Linked DNA regions of Homo sapiens: region 2 is linked to region 1. The links are contacts of gene promoters, found by promoter capture Hi-C in blood cells and fetal thymus (Javierre and others, 2016). All regions are on one chromosome and are shown on one strand. The core of a region is centred on a gene start or on the middle of the fragment in contact, and the rest is flanking DNA. Distances in the headings are between cores, read along the strand shown.

Region 1 (7,431 bases), core at 1,731-4,230:
ATTATTGGCTGTATAGACACCTAAAGAGGTGGCAGTCTTACACTACCGGGGTCATCAGAAAGGAAAGGAAAGGAAAGAAGAAATAGAAGGGAACCGCCAAGTGGATATTGAAGCCAAAAGAGCCGCAAGGCGGGACCCTCCATTAGAAATGCTTATAGAAGAACCCCTAGTATGGGGTAATCCCCTCCAGGAAACCAAGCCCCAGTACTCAGCAGGAGAAATAGAATGGGGAACCTGACGAGGACATAGTTTCCTCCCCTCAGGATGACTAGCCACTGGAGAAGGAAAAATACTTTTGCCTGCAGCTAACCAATGGAAATTGCTTAAAACCCTTCACCAAACCTTTCACTTAGGCATTGATAGCACCCATCAGATGGCCAAATTATTATTTACTAGACAGGCCTTTTCAAAACTATCAAGTAGATAGTCAGGGCCTGTGAAGTGTGCCAAAGAAATAATCCCCTACACTACAGGCCATACATTTCAATCCCTGTATCTTTAACCTCCTTGTTAAGTTTGTCTGTTCCAGAATCGAAGCTGTAAAACTACAAATGGTTCTTTAAATGGAGCCCCAGATGCGGTCCATGACTAAGATCTACCGTGGACCCCTGGACCAGTCTGCTAGCCCATGCTGTGATGTTGGTGACATCAAAAGCAACCCTCCCGAGGAAATCTCAACTGCACAACCCCTACTATGCCCCAATTTAGCAGGAAGCAGTTAGAGCGGTCATCGGCCAACCTCCCCAACAGCACTTGGGTTTTCCTGTTGAGGGGGGCACTGAGAGACAGGACTAGCTGGATTTCCTAAGCCAACTAAGAATCCCTAAGCCTAGCTGGGAAGGTGACCGCATCCACCTTTAAACATGGGGCTTGCAACTTAGCTCGCACCTGATCAATCAGGTAGTAAAGAGAGCTCACTGAAATGCTAATTAAGCAAAAACAGGAGGTAAAGAAATAGCCAATCATCTATCGCCTGAGAGCACAGGAGGAGGGACAATGATCGGGATATAAACCCAGGCATTCGAGCCGGCAACAGCAACCCCCTTTGGGTCCCCTGCCATTTTATGGGAGCTCTGTTTTCACTCTATTAAATCTTGCAACTGCACACTTTTCTGGTCCGTGTTTGTTACGGCTTGAGCTGAGCTTTTCCTTACCGTCCACTACTGCTGTTTGCTGCTGTCGCAGACCCGCTGCTGACTTCCACCCCTCTGGATCTGGCAGGGTGTCTGCTGGGCTCCCGATCCAGTGAGGCGCCCATTGCTGCTCTGGATCAGGCTAAAGGCTTGCCATTGTTCCTGCGTGGCTAAGTGCCTGGATTTGTCCTAATTGAGCTGAATAGAGCTATAACACTCATTGCATGGCCCAAGATTCCATTCCTTGGAATGCGTGAGGCCAAGAAACCCAGGTCAGAGAACAAGAGGCTTGCCGCCATCTTGGAAGTGGCCCGCCACCATCTTGGGAGTTCTAAGAACAAGGACCCCTGCCACCCACCCCCCGTAACAATTGCACTTACTTTATTTGGTGTTCATAGTTTCCCTCTGAGACAAGATTTTTTATTTTTTATTTTTTTAGAGATGGGGTCTTGCTATGTTGCCCAGACTGGTTTTGAACTCCTAGCCTCAAATAATCCTCTCATCTTGGCCTCCCAAGTATTGGGATTACAGGTGTGAGCTATCCTGCTCGGCCCCTCTGAGATAAGCTTTAATATCCCTATTTCAAAATGAGTAAACTGAGGTTTGGAGTGGGTAAAGTGCTTCCTTCCTTCATTCATTCATTCATTCATCCATCCATCTATTCATTTATTCAACAGACATCTGAATGAGTAGCTACCCTGCATCAGGGTATGCCAACTCTGGGCATACGAAGATGATTAAGACAAAAATCCCTGTCCTCACAGTCCAGAATGAAGGACAGACACATAAAGATGAGTATAATACAAGGTGGATCATGAATTGTAGCTAATATTTATTGGGTACTTACTAAGTGCCAGTGACTGCTGTAAGCTCTTGGTGTGTTTTACTCCTTCAGTTCTCCCCAACCTCTGTTAGCTACATGTCTCATAGATTGATTCATAGATAAGACTGAAGCCTGGTGATTGTCTACGGTTTTATAAGTAGCAAGTGGCAGAGCCAGGATGAATACCCAGTGGATAGGTATTAGTGCCAGAGGTCCCACTTGGCCATCAAGCTCTACTGTCTCTGATGATAAAGTAGCAAACAGGGACCTAAGTTGGTTGGGGGGGGCGCTAACTCAGTCTGGCATTCACGGTGTTCAGGGGAGATTTCCTGAAGGACTAAGGAATTAGCTAGACAGAGGTGAGTGGGGGGGAGGGAGGGCCATCGCTGGGGAGGGCCAGACGTGGGAGCCACCTCCTGGAAATCTACACAGCATCTAGGCCAGGCAGGGACTGGAGCGTGTGAGGAAGCTGCGAAAGCAGGCAGGACCCAGCTTCCAAAGGAAAGTGGTCCGTATCCTAGAGGTAGCTGCAAGTTTGAAGGGTTTTACGTAGGGGAGAGACTTGGCCAGATTTTTAGAAAGATCACCGGGGAGCTGGGTGAAAGTGGATGGAAGGACAGAGACAAGCACTGAGGCAGTGAGTGGGGAGGAGAGAGGAGAAATTCAGGAAGAAGAGTTTTCCCCATGATGGTTATTCGGGGGTTAAGTAGAGGACAGGGAGCAGTTTTAGAGGACACCCAGCTTCTGCTCCTAATCAGGGGGATTGGGGTGATCTGATGAGGTCAGTATTGGATGTCAACCCAGTCTTCTGGCGCCCAGTCCGTGCCCTTTCGCCTCGTGGCACTGCCAGCAATAATGCCCGCGGGCCACGGGTGAACGTGAACCGAGCTCGCAGCCTCCAACCCCACCCCTCCGGCGGCGGCGACGTGCAGTGCATCACCCTGGGCACCAGGGGGCGTGCCCGCACACGCTCGGGCCGCTCTGGCCCAGCCCATCTCAGTGGTCGCGGAAGGTGACGTGGACACGGAAGTGGTCGTCGTCGCGGCACCGGTGGGAGCTAGGCGCGAGGCTCGGAGTGCGGCCAGCGGGCGGAGGCGGTCTCGCATCGGCGGCGACGGAGGGCTCAGGCGTCGTCGTTTGGGTGGGGGGCCGCTGAACTGACAAGCGACATTTCAGCTCCTTTCACCCGCCGGAACCCCGGAGCCGGGGCCCGCTCAGCCGGCGTTACCATGACCAAGGCCGGTAGCAAGGGCGGGAACCTCCGCGACAAGCTGGACGGCAACGAACTGGACCTGAGCCTCAGCGACCTGAATGAGGTCCCGGTGAAGGAGCTGGTCAGTATCGTCCCGCGAGGCCCAGGCGCCCACCTTCGCCGGGCGCTGGCCCCTACGTGGGCCACTTACTTTCCTCTTCTCTAAAAGCATCAGTTTCCTTTTCTTTAAAAAGAAGCGGGGTGGTGGGACTAAGTCCCCTAGGAGGCCGCGTCCAGCCCAAGGTTCTTCCCGGGATGTACACGTGTCACTTTGGCGCAGTTCCAGAACATAGGGAAGATCTGCTTCTCTGGCCCTAGGCTTTTTACAGGCTAAGAAGCGAATCTGTCACCTTTGCGGGGCTTTCACAGCGCCCACCTCCGTGCCCGACTCTGAGTAGGAGCACACGGAGCAGTTACTGGATGTATTCGAGAATGAATGAGTGACTTGTTCCAGGGGAGTAGGCCTCCTGGTAGACCTGGGTGTGGCCCAGAACCTGGCTCTTCTAGGAAGCTGGCAATTCCAGCTGGCTGCCCGAGCCCTGAGGCAGCCTAACTCGAAGAAAGTAAAGTCTCCCCCCAGCTTGGCTGGTAAACTGTCATCTGAATTCCGCTGAAACTGGCGGGAGTCCCTTTCGCCCCTCTCTCCCCCAACCTTTCCCCTGTAAACTGAAGCTTACAGCTCCAGAGAGATAGCAGGCATCTAGTTTTGTCAGCGTGGAGCTAGTTCCCACATCCCTCCTTTTCCCACTCCGTTCCCCCTCCCACCCGCGCCAACGCCCTACTAGACTCACTTTGGGTGACCCACACTTTGCTTTCTGCCGTTGATAAATTACATTTGCCTTGGGCGCTGGGCCCAGTCTTTCTTCCACCGTGGACGGGTATTACAGTGGTTAGAACCGGGTTCCTAGCTCCTCCCAGCTCCATTGCTTAATAGCCGAGTGCCCTTGGCAAGCTAGTTAGCCTTTATGCCTAGATCTCCTCATCTATACAATGGTGATAATAGTTTCCATCTCATACGCTTATTGGGAGGTTAAATACCATTGTAATGGAAAATGCTTGGAAGGAGCAAATACTGATACTTGTAGCTGTTGTTGTGTTTTTCCCGCTGTAGTATTTAAAACTTTTTTAGGTGGTCAAACTTCACTTTTACGACTTTGTGACAGAAAGTGCAGGTTGCCAGAGGATCCTTAACTGAATATATGCCTCCTTTTCTACCCCAGGAAGATAGATGGCCAGCCTTATTTCACCCTGCCCTAGGACTGCTCTCTGAAACCATATACTCCAGGCATCTGAACAGTCCAGCATTAACCTTAGGGAGAAAGTTTTGCTGAGCTTGTCCAGCCTGGACACCATGGGAAAATAGAGATGGGCTGTGAGGGCCTTTTTTTTTTTTGGATGATGGAGTTTTGCTGTTGTTGCCCAGGAGTGATCTCGGCTCACTGAAACCTCTGCCTCCCGGGTTCAAGCGATTCTCCTGCCTCAGCCTCCCGAGTAGCTGGGATTACAAGCGTGTGCCACCATGCCTGGCTAATTTTCTATTTTTAGTAGAGACAGGGTTTCTCCGTGTTGGTCAGGCTGGTCTCGAACTCCTGACTTCAGGTGATTGCCTGCCTCAGCCTCCCAAAGTGGTGGGATTACAGGCGTGAGCCACCGCACCCGGCAGGGCCTTGTTTTTTCACTCTGTCATTCACTCCGCTACTTACTCGATCAGTCATGATTCAGGCAACATGTATGGATATTGAGTACCTGTTCTGAGGAAGGGCCTGAACTGGGGAATATGGAAATTGCAAAGCTTTATTAGACACTGTCCCTGCCCTGAAACCTAATAAGAGGGACGCTGGGTAATATTTATTTTTAAAGTGCTAGGAATAATGTCTAAGAATCTAAATTTTGCTTGCCTGCCTGCCTGCCTGCCTTCCTTTCTTTTTTTTTTTTTTTGAGATGGGGTCTCACTGTGTTGTGCAGGCCGGCCTCAAACTCCTGAACTCCTGGGCTCAAGCGATCCTCCTGTCTCAGCTTTCTGAGTAGCTGAGACTATGAGACTACAGGTGTGAGTCCCTGTGCCTCGCCTAAGGTTTACCTTCTTGGAGGTTGTACAGCCACATCCCTTCTCTTTGCATTCTTCCTTAGATCATGGTTGACTGGCTTATTTTTCCTCTTATTCCCAGGAACATTACTCTTTACTGCCATTTTAAAAGGCCTTTCCTAATCATGGGAACATTCTCTGGAAAATGCTTCATTAACATATGTCAGTGAATTGTTCCAGATGTTGGTCTGACATGTTTTTCTCATCCTCTTTTACCTAGGCTGCCCTTCCAAAGGCCACCATCCTGGATCTGTCTTGTAATAAACTGACTACTCTACCGGTAAGATTGGCATGCAGCCGTGACTCCTTCTGGTGCCTTGGATGCATCTCCTTCCTGTTTCGGGGGTTGAGAGGGGGGTGGGAGGGTGTCATAAGGTGTAATTTCAGGATAGGCCTACAGGCAGGCTATAGCTAAATCTGAGTGTGTAGGGGAGGCACAGTGGAATGGAGTGGTTGGTCTCAGTGGGAAAGGAATTGAGATGGAGGCCTCATTCTTCAGAACAGTGGTAAAGTCAGTCCACAGAAAACTAAACTCAACAGGGTGCTGAGTAACTTACTGGGCTCATCTTTTTTCTACATTATTTTATTCCTCTGAAAAATAGTTTACCTCCCTACTGCATAGAGGATGCTAGAGACCATTTTGTAAGTTGCTCTGCGTTCCAGGGAGAAAGCTGTGAACAGCTTCCTTGTGCATCTTTTGATGGGGAGCAAGAAAGAAGGTGATTTTATGGGCTACCTTATCATTATTCTCCCAAAGGACTTGAATTAGTTGAGATTTGCTCAATGTGGTCAGCACATTCAATCCATGATCAAATCCTTTTTATTTTTCTTGCACAACGTCTGCTAGTTTTCCTTCCACTCCACCTGTGTAGACAGTGGATTCATTCAGCCCCTCAGCCTCTCTGACATAGTAGTGCTCCTGCACCGTCAGGCCTAAGTGTGCTATTGCCACTTCCACCCATCACTCTAGCCGTGCCACTCCTTGCTGTACTCCAGGGTGACTTCCTATTTGGCCCTGGCTGTGGCTCAGAGGTCGAATTCAGAAGTTGGCAATGTCCTCATTGGATTATTAGTCCACTCACCTCTCAGTATTCTCCTAGGCCTTGCTCATCGTCCACAGTACCTTGTCACAGCTCATCAAAAACTGTTTCTAACATTCAAAAAGCATCGAGATCTCACTTCTTCCAGAAAGTATTTTGTGTTGAATAAAAGAAGAATATGTTGGGAGCTGTGGTTCATGCCTATAATCCCAGTAACTCAGGAGGCTGAGGTGGGAGAATCACTTAGCCCAGGAGTTTGAGAGCAGCCTGGACAACATAGCAAGATCCCGCCTCTAAAAAATTAAAAATAAAAGCAGGTTAGCAATTCCTTGCAGCCGCACTCCTTCTGTACACTTTGCCAGATGGTCATTCAGCCAAGTGCACTTTTCGATCTGAGCTTGTTCTGTTGTCTGTACTGACAACTTCCATTTCACTCTGCATTTCAGATCCACTGGCATTTCCAAGTCCCTAGAGAGCATGAATAGTGCCTCATTAGCTGAGGTTGTACCATCGCTTTCAGATGGGTGCTTAGCAAAGGTTTAATGTCAGGGGGATGTTTTGACCTGTGTTGAGAAAGAGCCAGGACTTGGGTAGGATGGACCCCAGCCCGTTCAGTTAGTTATTCACAGAATGTCTGTTGAGCACCTGTGTTAAGTACTGTGCTAGGTGCTGCAAATAACAAGAATCAGACTGAGTACTCCAGGAGTGCCTGATCTTTTTAAGAAAATGAACGAGCACGCTGTTTTGACAGATCCTATGAATGGTGAGCATAGGGTGCTGTGGAAGGACAGAATGGGTAACCACACCTCTCCAGGAGCAGTGTGGAGGGTAGGCTGGAGCAAGAACTGAGGGTGAAGGAATAGTGTTTTGTGCCTACTTTGTGCTAAGCCCTTTTCCATACATATCTTGGTAATTATCACCAGGTGTGGTAGGTGTTCTCTGCATTTTCATTTGAGGAAGAACGGCTGCTAACAGTAGAGCCAGGATTTTTACATGGGGTACCTCTGACTTGAGGGCTTCCAGACTGTTACACCGAAGTGTGTGAGCCCAAGGCTTAGATGAGGAGTTTCCAATCTTGTGGCTTCCCTGGGCCACAT
Region 2 (7,431 bases), core at 1,423-3,922, 330 kb before region 1:
CTCACCAGATAGGTACCAGCTACAATGCTTCTTGTACAGTCTGGGGAACTGAACTAAATAAACCTCTTTTCTTTATAATTATCCAACCTCAGGTATTCCTTTATAACAACTAAGAGAGTTACTGACCCTAACTCCCCTAAAACCTAACTATCAAAAGCCTACCACTGACTGGAAGCCTTACAATAACACTAACAGTTGGTTAACACGTATTTTGTATATTATTTGTATTATATACTGTATTCTTTTTTTTTTGAGACAAAGTCTCGCTCTGTCAGCCAGGCTGGAGTGCGGTGGCATGATCTCGGCTCACTGCAACCTCCGCCTCCCGGGTTCAAGAAATTCTCCTGCCTCAGCCTCCTGAGTAGCTGGGATTACAAGCACCGGCCACAACGCCTGGCTAATTTTTGTATTTTTAGTAGAGACAGGGTTTCACCATGTTAGCCAGGCTGGTCTCCAACTCCTGACCTCAAGTGACCGCCCACCTCGGCCTCCCAAAGTGCTGGGATTAAAGACGTAAGCCACCGTGCCTGGCTATATACTGTATTCTTACAATAAAGTAAGCTAGAGATGTGCACTGTAGAATGTTTAGGGAAAAAAATAACTATAAGTAAGCTAGAGAAAAAAATGTGAAAACACATTTACAGTGCTGTATTTATCAATACCCTAAGTTTAGGTCATCTGTATACAAAAGATGAATTGTCTCAAATGCCAGCAACCCCAGGTGCAGATCTCAGTCTATCGTACATATCAAGCAATTTAACTTCTTGTACTGTCATGACTTTTCTGCTTCTTCGGAGCACTTCCAATGTCACTAGCTGCACTTCGTATGGGTCTCAGGGCGTTATTCAAAGGTCATGGTATTGTACATAGGCCAGGCGCTGTGGCTTACACCTCTAATCCCAGCACTTTGGGAGGCCAAGGTGGGCGGATCACTTAAGGCCAGGAGTTCGAGCCCAGCCTGGCCAACATGACAAAACCCCATCTCTACTAAAAATACAAAACTTAGCCAGACATGGTGGTACACGGCTGTAATCCCAGCTACCTGGGAGGCTGAGGTATGAGAACTGCTTGAACCTGGGAAGCAGAGGTTGCAGTGAGCCGAGATGGCACCACTGCACTCCAGCCTGGGCGACAGAGCAAGACTGTCTCAAAAACAACAACAACAAAAAGCAAAACAACAAGTTTATACGGTATTGCAATAAACAATGATGAAAATACACAAGAACCAAGGGATAATTTTTTACTGTGATATGCAATTTACTTTAGACACCAACTGCTCATGCAGAGATTATCAAGAGTCACAGGTCATAGGGCATTTTAAGTGGAGCCTGGCAACACTTGAGCTCACTGTAATAGCAACAGGTGGCTACAAAATTATTACAGTATTACAGTATGTACTATAGTTAATTTTATGCAGTTATTACTCAAGCTTTACTTTCTCTGGACTGCTAGTGGCACCATGTACTGTGTGCATAAGTTTTTATAAAGTTTAACTTTTTATGATTCGTATGTATTTTGTGGTAGGAAAATGATAAACTAGTATATACATCTATTTTATGTATTTGTGATGTACTTATCTTTTCTTAAATTTTAAAAATATTTCTAAGCTATGTGATTCGTCTTCAAGTTTTTTCAAATTGTTGCAAATCTCCAAAAAATGTTCCAATATATTTATTGAAAAAACTCCACGTATAAATGGACACACTCAACTCAAACCCGTGTTGTTCAAGGGTCAATTTTACTTTTCCCAATGGTAGGATTTATCATATTCTGTTATGGAAATGCGTTTACATTCAATTGGAATAATCCCCATTGGAAAAAAAAAGTGCATTTACTGTCACCAATACATGATGGCTCTTTAGGACCAAGTGCTGTATCTGTACTATCCTGCTGTTATCTACCTAAGAGCAATACTTTTAATTTTTTTTTTGAAATGGAGTCTTGCTCCTGTCACGCAGGCTGGAATGCAGTGGCGTGATCTCGGCTCACTGCAACCTCCACCTCCCGGGTTCAAGCGATTCTCCTTCCTCAGCCTCCCGAGTAGCTGGGATTACAGGCGTGCGCCACCACACCTGGCTAATTTTTGTATTTTTAGTAGAGACAGGGTTTCGCCATGTTGGCCAGGCTGGTCTCAAACTCCTGAGCTCAGGTGATCCACCCGCCTCAGCCTCGCAAAGTGCTAGGATTACAGGCGTGAGCCACCGCTCCCAGCCGAGCAATACATTTTTGTTGGATAAATGAATACAACAATTTTCCTAACTTACTATAAGAAATGAAGAGAAAGGCTGGGCATGGTGGCTCACCCCTGTAATCCCAGCACTTTGGGAGGCCGAGGGAGGATCACTTGTTGTCAAAAGTTCAAGACCAGCCCGGCAAACATGGTGAAACCCCATCTCTACAACAACACAAAAATTAGTCAGGCATGGTGGCATGCACCTGTAATTCCACCTACTCTGGAGGCTGAGGCAGGAGAATCGCTTGAACCCGGGAGGTGGAGGTTGCAGTGAGCTGAGATCACACCACTGCACTCCAACCTGGGCAACAGAGCAAGACTCCATCTCGGGGGTAAAAAAAAAAAAAAAAAGAGAAAATATTTCATAAAACGAAGAACTGTATTAGCAAAAAAGTCAAATTTACAAACTTAAGCTACCTTCTCCTTTTGTGAGGAAATCAAGGCTAATAACATATATAATGACACACACACACACACACACACACACACACACACAATTTTCCTAAAGCAACCAAAGATTTACGAAATACCTTACTATAATTTTCAGTGATTATGGTATTGTGGTTATTTTATTCTATTTTTTTTTTGAGACAGAGTGTCACTCTGTTGCCCAGGCTGGACTGTGGTGGCACCATCTCGGCTCACTGCAACCTCTGCCTCCTGGGTTGAAAGGATCCTCCTGCCTCAACCTCCAGAGTAGCTGGGATTACAGGAATGCACCACTACGCCCAGCTAATTTTTTTATTTTTTATTAGAGACAGGGTTTCACCATGTTGGCCAGGCTGGTCTCGAACTCCTGGCCTCAAGTGATCTGCCTGCCTTGGCCTCCCAATGTTGAGATTACAGGTGACCCACCATGCCCGGTCGGCTATGTTTTTTTTTTAAAGTCCTTGTATTTTACAGATATACAATGACCGCTTTAAGGTTGACAATAACAGAATTGCTTCAAAATAATGGAAGGGATACAGAGGAAATAATATTGACTATGTGCTAATATTGCTAAATTGGGCATGGGTACATGGGGAGTTCAATTTATTATACTATTCACTCTAATTCTGTATGTTTTGGGAAGAAAAGCAAATAGCAATTACATACACATATAACACATGGACTGCTGGCAATTCTGAGAAGCCAACACTTACTATTTTACTATGGAGTAAGGTAGGAAATGCCAGCCGGGCGCAGTGGCTCACGCCTGTAACCTCAGCACTTTGGGAGACTGAGGCGGACCGATCACTTGAGGTCAGGAGTTCAAGACCAGCCTGGCCAATATGGCAAAACCCTGTCGACTAAAAATACAAAAATTAGCCGGGCGTGGTGGCCCACACCTGCAATCCCAATTACTCGGGACGCTGAGGCCAGGAGGTGGAGGTTGCAGTGAGCCAAGATCATGCCACTACACTCCAGCCTGGGTGACAGAGCTAGACTCTGTCTCAAAAAAAAAAAGGGGGGGGGGCAGGGAGCAGGGTAGAAAATGCTTTTCTATCTTACTCCATAGTAACATAGTAAGTTACTATGAACATTTTGGTGACTCTGAATGAAAACTAGTAAAATACATATTAATAGATGCCATCATGCATTATAATTACTAGTTTTTTGCTTTCAATTTTTGCTCCCAAATTCTGAACATTTTTAAAGCAAAAAGAAAAAGTATACAAGTAAAAAATGTGGACAGAAGCTTTAGCTATTTTTCCTTTTCTAAACAACTTTTCAGTGTCAATGACAGTATCTGCTAACATTCCAAAGATTTTAGAAAAGAACATAGTTCAATTTCCTTCATAAATTATTAAACCTTCATGTTAAACCTTCATGGAAGGAAGGGTAGGCTTGAGTTTGATAAATGGAAGAAAACTCATTTCAGATATTAGAATCAGTGTTAATGATTAAGTAATTTCATTTTCAGGTTGAGATCTAGAATATAAAAACCTCAATTTGAACTACAAAATTTCTGTCTTGCTACATAAAAAATAACAAAACTCCCGATCAGACTTTACAATTTACTACAATCTTCTAATAATATGGCTACTAGTGCCTTCTCTGGCTAACACTGAAATCAAACCCTCACTGAAAGGTACTCACCCTAGGCAGTTAGTTACAATCACATGCTTTCCTCATCACTGTGGTTGTTTAGGATTAACCAAGCAATTGCTTAGTGCAAAAAACCAAAACAATAATCTCAAACAATTGCAAAATACAAATAAACACGGTGGGAGGGTGTACCAATGAATCCATGAAACAGTATTAAAGCCGACTTCACTTTAGCTGCAGTTTCTCAGATCCAGAGGTAGCAATCTACAAAGTTGGAAATGCCTGTAAAAGCACTAGCCCCAGTAAAATACCTTGGTGAAGGTTACATACACACCATTACAAATAAATGGTCGATGATTTTGCATCACAGATGCATCCTTCACTTGAAACTGCGCTTCGCAAGTGCTGCTTGCTCACTTATTACCCATCATGAAAAGGAGAAAAAAGTACAGTATTAGAATCTACTACCAAATTAATACCAATTAAGATTTAATTGTGCAGATATGCACAATTAAAAGCCCAGGACTAATCAGGATGGGTCAGGAAACAGTAGGTCACAAACTTTAGAATGCATAAGAGGAGCCGGCCGGGCGCGGTGGCTCGCGCCTGTAATCCCAGCACTTTGGGAGGCCGAGGCGGGCAGATCACGAGGTCAATAGATCGAGACCATCCTGGCCAACATGGTGAAACCCCATCTCTATTAAAAATATAAAAATTAGCTGGGCGTGGTGGAGGGCGCCTGTAGTTCCAGCTACTGGGGAGGCTGAAGCAGGAGAATCGCTTGAACCCGGGAGGCGGAGGGTGCAATGAGCCAAAATCACGCCATTGCACTCCAGCCTGGGAGACAGAGCAAGACGCCGTCTCAAAAAAAAAAAAAAAAAAAAAAAAGAATGCATAAGAGGAGCCATAAAAAATGCAGATACTGGGACCCTTCCCCAAGACAGACAGAATCTGACTCTCTGGGAAGGGGAGTTGAAGGGGTTGAAGTACAGAAATATGCATTTAAAACAAATTCCACAGGTCAAATACAGCTATCTAGGGACTACCTTTAATACTAGGTAAAGTTAGCATTTTGACTGTTAAATACTTACAGATGCCACGGCAACTGTCTTTTAATTAATGGTTGCTTCCTTTCCTTATTTTGGTATTTATCTCTATTCCAAAAAAAAAAACAAGGGCCCCATCCAGCTGAAATGGCTTCTTCCATTTAATGCAAGTATGGCCAAGAAAAATTTCCAGATAGAACAGGAATGCAAAAATATGTTAAAATATTAGGCTATAGAAAAGGTGACTCCTTTTCAGCATATAATGGGTTTGCCCATCCCTGCAGGTTTAGCACTAACAGCCAACAGTACAAGAATATGCAGATGACCCGGAAACGATATCAACAGCTTCCCCAGCTTCATTATACAATAATTCCACCTATTTAGATGAGACCATGTGCTTTGTTTTTGCTCAACACTACCAACATTTTCCCTGCAGATATCAATCTGAAATGCCAGTAACTGACTTGAAATCCTTCAATCTAGAGTGAAGTGCAATCTGTCATTAAGGCATTAAATACTTTAGTAATAAACACTGAAAGTTAAAATTAGTGAAAAGTACTAAAACTGAAAGCAAAGCAGATTACGGCTGAGATGACATAAAACCTAAATTGCTATTCTGAGGGCCTCATCATTGAAGAGTCATAAACCCATCACATACAATGCAATGTGGCAACAAATTACCCCGGGAAAGAAAACAGTTTCTCTAAAACGTGTTCAAAGTCAAGGGTGCAGAGATACAAGGCTGTTCCAACTGATAAGGAGTGCAATGGAAAGCATTTTTCTCTTGAATTCAAAATATACAAATAACCTATTGAACATAAGCCAAATCGCCATAATGTTTTGGTTTTTTACCTTACTTAGGATTTTGAGCGTTATTCCTAACACATTTGCAAAGTTTAGACTGAAAGGTTACAGAGTCAGGTAGTTAAAAAAAAAAAAAGTTACTTCGCTATAACAAAGATGCCTACAAAAGAAAGATGGTCAAGGTAAGCAGTTCCTTAGTCTCCTATTGTGACAAATGGTCGGGGGGATGGGGAGCCTAAATGTTAAAAACAAAAAACCCACCTCTTAAAAACAATAAATTCTACTCTAAGAATGTTTCATACTACTTTGGAATCAGTTAGCACCCCAACACAACTTGAGCCAAACTTACTCTTTCTTAAAGTCCTAAAAGGAGTCATCTAGCACCAACTTGCTTTCCTACACTGCAAAAAAGAAATTTTACCTTAACCAAAGCCTACGTTTAAAAAGAGTAAGAAAACAGTTTTCTAAAGAAGCATGCATTACCTGAACTATTCCTTCCTATTTTGATTAGCAATTGTTTTAAAATTAGCATGTTAGATTATAACCTCAAAGTAAAATTAAATTCTGTATCTATTCTCCAGATAAGACCTAAAGTAAACATTACACTGCATGTTCAAAACTAGATCAAAACACTTGAAATGCTACAGTAGGTGCAGAGAACCAGTTTCATAGGATTGTGGAAAGCTAACAGAACTACAAAGATTAGTTTCCTCAGTTGCCAAGACTTTGGGTGAGCCTTTTTAAGTCTCACCAGTGAAACTGGGGTTATAATATTTACCTTTACTCCCCGGGCTAAGAGCATCAAATGAGTTTTATGTGGAAGAAAAAACCTTGACAGCTGCCTCTATAAGGGACTTCTTAGAATACTGTTAACGAACAATACTTGTAAATCATCACGGTAAACCCTAACAAGTAAACGACTTCTTTTACATTTCTATTTCCCCGTATAAGCGTCATGCTGTAATTACTTAAATAAAATACCGCCACGATTTTTACCATGAATCCTGGTCAGAAATTTTAGTCTAAATACGACGTTCAACCCAAACTATAGAAAAATGTGCCCTTCTCCCTATTTCATAATGAGGTGAAACCTCGGAGCCGCTAGATTTAATAAGACGCTGCTATCCTTCTTTCCCGCGTTTCCCCGCCTCATCAAGGTGCTTTTCAATTATGCCAAGGGCTCTCCCGGACCCCCTTGATACTAGAACAACAAAACCAAATCACCCCCATCCCCGGGTCCGGACAGCATCCTCCCTCCTGGCTCCATGGGCACCGGGTCAGACGCTCGACCCCGGGTGCGGCCCTGGCCACATCGCGCCG

The links. Contacts are between HindIII fragments. The CHiCAGO score rates a contact against its expected background, and 5 or more counts as called.
Region 2: a contact is called between a fragment that was not itself captured here and the fragment with the promoter of LRRC59 in region 1, in 1 of 17 cell types (erythroblasts). The highest score is 6.6, in erythroblasts.

What each region holds. Positions count from the first base shown.
Region 1 is chr17:50,393,072-50,400,502 of GRCh38, reverse strand. It overlaps LRRC59 (leucine rich repeat containing 59), which reads left to right and starts at 2,980. Exons shown (of 7, transcript NM_018509.4): 1 at 2,980-3,290; 2 at 5,515-5,574. The coding sequence starts at 3,186. LRRC59-AS1 (LRRC59 antisense RNA 1) reads right to left here and starts at 5,579. Exons shown (of 2, transcript NR_199069.1): 1 at 5,511-5,579; 2 at 1,946-3,287. RefSeq lists a silencer at 2,934-3,003. The HindIII fragment of the contact is 2,181 bases long and covers 1,702-3,882 here.
Region 2 is chr17:50,719,910-50,727,340 of GRCh38, reverse strand. All of the region lies in intron 1 of LUC7L3 (LUC7 like 3 pre-mRNA splicing factor), which reads right to left. Among named protein-coding and RNA genes, the nearest start is that of LUC7L3, 4.0 kb to the right of the region's middle. RefSeq lists an enhancer at 1,906-2,405 and a silencer at 7,402-7,431. The HindIII fragment of the contact is 2,482 bases long and covers 1,432-3,913 here.